3 separate regions of the Homo sapiens genome follow, and regions 1 and 2 are each linked to region 3. The links are contacts of gene promoters, found by promoter capture Hi-C in human tissues and cell types (Jung and others, 2019). All regions are on one chromosome and are shown on one strand. The core of a region is centred on a gene start or on the middle of the fragment in contact, and the rest is flanking DNA. Distances in the headings are between cores, read along the strand shown. Region 1 holds the start of CLCF1 (cardiotrophin like cytokine factor 1). Region 2 holds the start of LOC112268076 (translation initiation factor IF-2-like). Region 3 holds the start of NUDT8 (nudix hydrolase 8).

What was found. The method cuts DNA at HindIII sites, captures the fragments that hold promoters and counts their contacts. A contact is called where the count stands out against the background at its distance.
Region 1: the fragment with the promoter of CLCF1 here is called in contact with the fragment with the promoter of NUDT8 in region 3 in 1 of the 25 tissues and cell types used here (heart left ventricle).
Region 2: a contact is called between a fragment that was not itself captured here and the fragment with the promoter of NUDT8 in region 3, in 5 of the 25 tissues and cell types used here (H1 embryonic stem cells, heart right ventricle, liver and 2 more).

Annotation. Positions count from the first base shown.
Region 1 is chr11:67,372,289-67,375,117 of GRCh38, forward strand. It overlaps CLCF1 (cardiotrophin like cytokine factor 1), which reads right to left and starts at 1,310. Exons shown (of 3, transcript NM_013246.3): 1 at 1,236-1,310. The coding sequence starts at 1,251. All of the region lies in intron 2 of LOC100130987 (a long non-coding RNA gene), which reads left to right. RefSeq lists silencers at 699-1,038, 1,599-1,648. The HindIII fragment of the contact is 15,975 bases long and covers 1-2,829 here.
Region 2 is chr11:67,964,280-67,967,047 of GRCh38, forward strand. It overlaps LOC112268076 (translation initiation factor IF-2-like), which reads right to left and starts at 1,881. Exons shown (of 4, transcript XM_047427952.1): 1 at 1,568-1,881; 2 at 193-230. The coding sequence starts at 1,881. The HindIII fragment of the contact is 4,449 bases long and covers 1-2,768 here.
Region 3 is chr11:67,628,314-67,631,197 of GRCh38, forward strand. It overlaps NUDT8 (nudix hydrolase 8), which reads right to left and starts at 1,624. Exons shown (of 4, transcript NM_001243750.2): 1 at 1,405-1,624; 2 at 606-738; 3 at 10-87. The coding sequence starts at 1,598. RefSeq lists silencers at 165-459, 1,027-1,176, 1,467-2,256, 2,377-2,546. The HindIII fragment of the contact is 11,433 bases long and covers 1-2,884 here.

The DNA.
Region 1 (2,829 bases), core at 60-2,559, 260 kb before region 3:
CAGGCTGGGAGCTGGGGGAACAGGGGTCCTCTGGGATTGGGAGGGTCTGTGGGGAGGGCTCCAGAAGCCCAGCACGGAGTTGTGGAAAGGAAGGCGGGTGGGGAGAGCAAGCATGAGGGGACCTCTGGCGAGCCCCGGGGACTCTTTCGAAGGTTTCCTTCGAGGGGCTCGGCCGGGAAGCTGCACGGCGGCGGTTGCCAGCTGGCCCTCCCTGCTGGCGGTGACCTCTCGCTCTGGGACCCCTCCCGGCGCTGCGCCTTCCCCCTGTGTGGCCTCGGCGCCCCCGGCCCCGCCCCCTCCCGCTCCCGCCCGGTCGCTCCTTCCCCGCGGCGGGGGCGGGGGCGGGGGCGGGGGCGGGGTCCGGGGCACCGGGCTCCGGGCTCTGCCCGGCGCTGCCCTTTCCCGCGCGTCAACTCCCCTCCTGCCCGGGCTGAGCGGCTGCTCCCGCCGCTCCCTGGCCAGTGACAGACTTTTTCCTGCCGGGTCCGGCCCGGCTGCGCCAGCCCCCCGCCAAACAATAATCACTCCCAGGCCACGGTGGCCCGGGGGACTCGCGGCCGCCGCCCGCCGCCCCTACCTGCCGCCGGCTCCCCGGCCGTGGGCACCATGGAGGGTTCCGGCCGCGCGGCGCGTAGCTAGGAAGCCGCGAGTCCCGCGGCGCGGCTCGGCCCGTCCGGCCCGGCCCAGCCAGGCTCGGCGCTGCCCTCCGCCCTCCTCTCCGCCGCCCGCCCTTCCTCCCGCCCGCCCTCCTACCCCTCCCGGCGGGCCGGGGAGGGAGAGCGGCGCGGCCCGAGGTGTCGGCCTCCCCTCGCCTCCCGCCGCCCGGCCTCGGGCTCCCCCGGCCTCCCTCCCTCTTCCTCTCCCAGCCCCTCCTCCCACCCGCAGCCTCGCTCCCCGCCTCGGACTCTCTGGCCCCGACTGGTGCGCGGGGCTCTGGGGCTGCGGCTCCTACGGCCCGCCTCGCTGGGGCTCCAGGTTGCCGCCTCCCCAGGTCTGCGATCGTCCGGGCTCCCCGCCGCTCCCGGCCACCTCCTGGCCCCGCCGTGCGGACTCCAGGAATGCCGCGTCCCCGCCCGGCCCCTCTCGAGGGCGCCCAGCCGTGCCTCCCCCGGCCCGAGCCCAGCTCCCTGGCCCGGCCCCGGCGCGGGGCTCCCGGGGGTCAGGGCAGGACGGGAACCGGATCTCGTGGCTGCTTGGCGGGGCGGGGGTCGGGGCCTCGGCCGCCTGGCTCCTACCTGCTCGGAGGTCCATGGGGCTGGGGCCGGGCCGGCCGGGTGCGGCTCCTCTCCCGGAGGCTGGCGGAGTGGGAGGGCGAGCCGCGGCTCCGGCGAAGCTTTAATAATCCCATCCGCCAGGCCCACTCGCAGGTTTTTTTCGCTCGGTTTCGGATTTTTTTTTTTTTTCGGTGTGGGACATTCTGCAAACTTTTTTTTTTTTTTTCTGACGTGTAAAGCTGTAACCACAAATTGTAGCGGCCCTCCCCGGGGTGGGGGTAGGAGGGGGGAGGAGGGAAGGGAGGGCTTCTGGGGCTCCCTCTCCCTCCCACAGCACCGAGGGGGGGTGAGGTGAGGCGAGGCTGTGGCGGTACCACCCTGGGCCTCCTGGGGGAGGGGGCGGGGAGGCCATCAGTCCGTCTGAGGACTCCCAGGAGCCGGGGGACAGCGCCGGCTTCGGGTGGGCTTCTCCCCAGGCGTTGGCCTGGGACACCGCCCCCTGCCCCCTGTCCCCTGCCGATGCGGGGTCCCTGATCCAACCTACCTCTGCCTGTGCGAGGTCCCTGCTCCCACCCTACCTCTGCCTCCTCATCTCTAACCTTCCCTCCTCCTCCCCCTTGAGTAAATGCAATGACACATTCTCCCAAATGCCAGCGAGCTGGCCTGGGAGCAAGTGATGGTGTTTTTCCTGCTGCCCTTTGTCTGGGCTGACCGCCCCCCCTGCCTATTGTCCCGCCGCTTGTCCCATTTCCAAAAGCTAGAGCTAAGCGAGGCGCTGGGGCTGGGGCAGGTGACTAACCAGCTCACAATGCCCCCTGCGGGGGAGGAAGAGGGCACTGCAGGCCCACTGCCCGGCCCAGAGGCGAGAAGAGGCCACTTGGCGGGACTTTTTCCCTCAAGTTCACAAGGTTCTTCATTCTTCCTCCAGTGACCAGGGAGAATGTACATGGGTGGGGGATTTGTAATTCATTAATCAGCACGAGGCAACGGACCAGTTTCAACACCACAGGCTTCTTGGGTGACTCAGCGGGAATGCTCCGATTCAAGGCGATGGACCGCCCGAGCGTCCCCATTTGTGAAATGTTTCCCCATGAAGACCCTGGCATTCTCCTTCCTTTGGGGTTTCGGGTTGTTGGTTTTTCCGGTGGTGAGGTGGGGGTGGCTTAGCGGTGAGGGCTCCCCCTCCTTCCCGCAGGCCTGGGTTGGGATTTGCTGGGCAGGATACCTGGGGGTATGCCTGGACCCTCCCAGAGGGGGTCCCCTCCTCCCTCTCCAAGGGCTGCCGGGGAGAACACGCTCAGAGGAGGCAGCTCTAACCCAGGGCTGGGGACTGCCCTGCTTCATGATTTTCCTGGGGGAGAGTCATGTGGTCCCCAAGGCTTGGGTGCCCTATAGCCACACCACCAATTAAATCACTGGGTAATAAGTTGCTTTTGTTGTTGTTTATTTATTGTTTCAAAGTGGGAGAGGCCAGTGGTGGGCCAGACCTGGAAGGTGATGCCTCTCCCTGGAGTGGCATCAGAGATTTGTCTCCCACTCCTTCCTGGTGCCCCTGGAATGGGAGGGCACTCTGCCAGTCCAGCCCCAGCGCCTCCAACCTGTGGCCTGGGCAGGC
Region 2 (2,768 bases), core at 111-2,610, 340 kb after region 3:
AACACTCACCGTGAAGGTCTGCAGCTTCACTCCTGAGCCAGCGAGACCACGAACCCCACCAGAAGGAAGAAGCTTCGAACATATCTGAACATCAGAAGGAACAAACTCCAGACACGCCACCTTTAAGAACTGTAACACTCACCAGGAGGGTCTGCGGCTCCATTCTTGAAGTCAGTGAGACCAAGAACCCACCAATTCCAGACACGTTTATAGACTTGGCACTGGGAGGTCTGCATGGAGCAAGTGAAGAAATCAGCAGAGTGAAGATAGAGGGAGAACAACATGATGGGGGAAAGGCAAAGTTACTGCCATGTTGGTTTCAATTCTGCCACTCATGAGTGAGACCCATGACCTCCTCTCTCTAGGACTCTGTTGTTCTTATCTGTAGAGTGGAGGAATAGAAGGGCCTTTTAAAGTATTAACATTTCCTGACCTATCTGTAAAACGCTTTCATTCAAACTGATGGGAATCTTGACTACTTTGCCAAGAGGACATAACAATCATCAAGCTGAATGCACCAAACAACATTGCCTGAAACTATCTAAGCAAAAACTGAGAAAGTTGCACAGGACAGACATACCTCCTATAAGAGGAAGAACTCTTTAGCACATGCTTAGTGTGTCAAAGACAATGCTGTGTTCACACCATTCCTCTTCCTGGACATGCAGAAAGACTACATTTCCCAGCCTTACTTGCAGTTAGTTTGGAACCATGTGACTGCATTTCCACCAATAGGAATGTAAGAAATCCCTTCAGGCCAAGGTTATCAAAGGCAAGTGTGAGCTATGTTCCCTCTCTTCCTATCCATATGGCTACAAGTGAAAAACTCTGAGATGGCAGAATTAAAAGATGGAAACCTCCAGAATCTCTGAATCACTGTTGGACAACGGCCCCCAAGGAGAACCCCTGCCCTGCACCAGACTATGCTATGGGTGCTAACCCACTGAGAGTTCAGGGTTTATTCATCTCAGCAGCAGTCTATTGTTAACACTGACTAACATCCTAAGGTTTGAGAGATCTAGCATATTGTTAATTGAAGCTAGATTTCAATTGCACTGAGAAACTTATCTATTTAAAAATAAAAACTCTCCTAAAAAAAACAAATAATCCACATTCCTTTTAACAACATGTGGCAAATTTGCAAAAAAAACCAAAAAAAAAGCAAAAAAACAAACAAACAAAAAAAACCAACTGGCCACATATTAGGCCATAAAGAAGTCTCAACAAAATCCACTATACGATTGACATTGTCCAGACCACATTTTCCTGACCATAATGCAACAAAATTAGAAGTCAACAGCAAGAAGATAGCTAAACACAAGCATGCATTAGGAAAATTAAAAATATCCTTTCATGAGTTAAATGAAAAATCTCAATAGAAATTACTAAACATTTACAACCGAACGAAAACACAACTTTTCATATATATATATATATATATATATATATATATATATATATATATATATGTATGTATGTATGTATTTTTTTTTTGTGAGTCTTCCAACTTTGTTCCTCTTTTACAAGTTTATTTGAGAAATTCCGGGTCTCCTGCAATTCCTCATACAGTTTTATGCTGTTTGTCATTTCTGTGGCTGGGATGAACTTATCGTAGTTCTCATAGACCAGGGTTTGCATGTCGCTGTCTAGAGCCCGGATCTGCTGCACCATGTCCGTCTCACTGTCCATCAGCTGGGCCAGAGGGGACTCTCTAGGCAGCTTGTCTAGGTAAACTTCCGGGTCAAAGTGTGCCCCGTTCAGATCAGTGGGGTCCAGGGGGTCGGGCCCTGCAGGGAGTCCCACCGCTTCCCCTTCTGAGAGGCCGTTGTAAAGCTTTAGCATCCTGTGCGCCTTCCGCCGACGCTCCGTGAGCCTCCACATCGGGGCCTTCTGGGGAGTCCCCAGGTCCACACCCCAGGCTAGGCCCAGTGACAGCTGCTGCCGCCATAGCTCCAACTGCAGCCCACGGGCGTAACTTTTTATATTTTTAAGTTGGATATATGGAGCTACTTGGCTTTTGCTTTCATCACATCGTTGAGGAAAGAGGTGGTTGCTTATGGTATCCCTGTTTTTACTGCAACCTGTAATGGATGAGAGCCTCCCTGTTGCAGAGAGCAAAACACTGAACTGAATTGTGCTATAACACAGCCCTGTGTTGGGGGATTGGGAGTGATCATGCAAACGCTTGCAAATTTGCACAGTGACAGAGACAATCGTTTGGGCAGCTGTTCACTACATGAAAAGGCAATTGACCAAAAGTCAGTTACTGAGCTATCTCAATACTTTCATTTTATTTTAACTTTTGGCAACAGGGTGCAATTAAAGGAGAGAAAGAAAACAAAGTGATAAGTGTAAGATAATGTACACACATGTGTAAAAGAAAATGACAAGACAGGGTGACTCTTTGTCTCTTGGTTAGCTCCTTGGGCTCTATGTCTCCTTCCTCAGAGAACCTCGTTTTCCTTTGTCCAGATTTGTTAGGGTGGATAATCCAGGCACCTGCTCCCCCATGATGGAAGCCAAAGACGTCCCTGGAGCCGCCTCCCGCTGCACCCTTTGCTGCACTGCCCACATGGACACAACTCAGCCGATTAGACTTCCTCTCAGAACTTTAGTCTTGAGCAAAGGGATTAAAGGGTGAAGTGACTGAAGGTATGCCCTTCCAAAGTAGTACGTGAGCTAATGGCTAAAGTTTGTCAAGCCCATCCAAGCACATTTTTTCGTAATTTTTATTTATTTATTTTTTTAAGACAGAGTCTTGCTCTGTT
Region 3 (2,884 bases), core at 374-2,873:
CCAGCTCACCTCCTCCGAGTTGGGCCTGAGGCTCTGGGGATCCAGTGGGCCTACACCAGCAAGCACTGGCACCACGGTGGCCTTTTGCTGGGGAAGAGGGCAGGTGGTCAGGGAAGCATGGCCTTCGCTGGGTTTGAAGGCTGGGGAGGGGAGTGTGAGAGGAAGACCCCTTTGCCATGCATAGGCCTTTGGTAGTCATGTTCGGGTCCACCTGCCTGTGTCCTCCAGCCATGCTGACTGACTCAGGTCCCCTCAAATGCACTAGACCTGTTCCCTCTGCTTAGGACAATCTCCCACTTGGCATTCAAGCCTGGGTTCAATCCCTGCCTACCCCATGAAGCTTCCCTGACCCTAATCCACCAAACTGAGTGGAGCTGGCCCACCCCATCGCCCTGGGCCACCTCTACTCAGGACACCAGAGCCTCCCCAATCCCTTCCCGAGGGGGTGTGTGGGGTGGTGCATGTGACCAGGCAGGTTAGGGGCACCCTTCCACACTTTGTGCCCGTGGGGGTCCATGACCACTCTCCTGGTCCCTGGTAGCCCAGCTCCAGGGCAGGCACAGAGTGAGTGAATGGGGTGGGGTGGCCTCAGCCAAGTGGCTTACCGGATCATACACAGGCCGCAGCAGGCCCCACACGTGCTCCTCGGGCACTGCCAGGCCCAGCTCCTCCCGGGTTTCCCGCAGGGCCGTGTGCACCACATCTTGGTCAGCCGGGTCGCACTTGCCGCCTGGGAAACTAAACAGACACAAGGAGTCTGGTCCTTGGACTCTTGGGGCCACGGAGAGGTCGGGGTATCGGCAGTGCGGGGGGGGCCACTGGCCCACCGAAGTGTCGCCTGCCTCTGCCCCTAGTTTACTGGGAGGCCCCAGGCAAGCCATGCGACCTCTGGAGGCCAGTTTACCTCCCTGAGCAATGGGGATAAGGAAGAGAGGCCCGGGACAGCGCAGGATAAGAGGGTCTGCAGCAGGGGCAAGAAGATCCTGGGGCTCAGATACCCAAATTCGGCCTATGGTGGCCCCAGCAACACTGACATTGTCCTCAGGATGTTCTTAATTCCCGCCGGGCGGGGCCCGAACCTCTCCGTAGTCGCCGGCAGGGGGCGGCGTCCGCCCTCTAAGCGGGAAACAGCTCAAAGGGGTGTCCCGGCCCAGGCGTGCGCGCAAGGACGCGTACGAGGGGCCCACGCGGCGAGGACGTGGCGCCCCGGCAGGTGCACCGGGGCCGACGGACACGGATCGCTGACCTCTCGCTGCAGCCCTTGGGCGGAGGGACTCTCCCCAGACCCATTTTACGGAGGCGGAAACCGAGGCTCGAAGGGGCTAAGTGCCCTGCCAGAGGTCCCTGCCAGCCCCGGGCTCCTGTAGCCTCCGGCAAAGGGCGAGGAGTTCCCGGCCGCTGTACCTGACGTCGCCCTTGTGCCTCCCGGTCAGGCGGCTGGACCGCAGCGTGTACAGCAGCGCCGGGACCCCACGCACTGAGCAGAGCGGCACGAGCACCGCGGCCGACGCGGGCCGCGCGCGGAGCCGGGCCGTGGCCCCTGCCAGCAGCCGGCGGCAGCGCAGCTCGCCCTCGGCCGACAGGCAGTCGGGCAGCATGTCAAGTCCTGCGCGGCCGGGACACTGAGGGCGCGGGATCGGGCGAGGGAAGAGGCGGGGCGAGGCGGGGCGGGGCGCTCAGCCCGGGTCCCTCCGAAAGCTGAGAGGGAGAAGGGGCAGCCCGCGCGACGCGTCCCGCCTGGGGGGCTGCAGAGCGGCAGCGGCGTCGGGGGGCCTCAGTGGGGTGGGTCTGTTCGTGGGCGGGGCCTTCCCGGAGACGGGGCCTCGGTGGGACTGGGTCTGTTCGGGGGCGGGGCCTGTTTGAAGGCGGGTCCTCGGTGGGACGGGGTCCGTTAGGGGGCGGGGCCTGTTTGAAGGCGGGGCCTCGGTGGGACGCGTTGAGTCCCCCGGATGGGAGGGACGGAGGGCGGCGGGGCGGGGCGGGGCGGGGCCTGCGCGGGAGCCGGACTCGGACGTTACTGCCAAAGGGCGGCGGGGCCTAGTAGGCAATCGAGGTTGGGGCGGGCTGGGGGCGGGGCCTGGACCGGAGCTTTTGCTACGAAGGACTGGGGGGCGTGGCCAGGAGGACTGTGCTTCCGGCAGGGCCGGGCCGTGGCCGGGGGTGTGGCCGCGGGGAGGGAGATGGGCGCGGAGCTGCAGGACCTGCCGGTTGTGTTCTCCGAGATCCTGAAACCACGCGAACCGTGAAGCGCCCGGCGACCGTCCTCGGTCCCGTTGGGTCCTGGCGTTGGGGTGTCTGATGAGGCCCCGCCGGCCCCCACTGGTCCGTCCCTCCCCTAGGGGCTCCAGGATGTACGGAGCCGGGATCCCACGGGGACGCCCCTCCAGGAACCCGAGGTCGATCGGTGCGCGAGAGGAGCGTCCGGCCCAGCCCTCCCTCCGGTCCTCCCTCCCGATACCGCTGGGTGGCGCGCGCCGCCCCCAGTCTTGTCTTCCCCTCTGGCTCCGTCGGACTCCAGCCCCAGGCCTTTGACCTCCTTGTCCCAGCGTCCAGAGCTCTTCTCCCTTCCTGCCTTGAGTCTTGACCGGATTCCCAAATCCCTCCCCCTTTCCTACCTCGGCCCCTGTGGTCACTGACCACCGTGGTTCTGCGCCCTTCCACCAGACCCTGGGCTTGGGGACCAGATGACCCCAGCCTTGCGCACAGCATTTAAACGTGGGGTGGCGGGTGTCCGCCATGCTCTGCTGTGTGACGTTGAGCAGGTCCCGCGCCTCTCTGAGCGCCAGTTTCGATCCTCATCTGGGCAAGTGCAGCCCTGCCACTGGGCTGGAGTCACCACTTTTAATATTACTGTGTGCTCCCAGGGATGCGGACGGCACTGGGC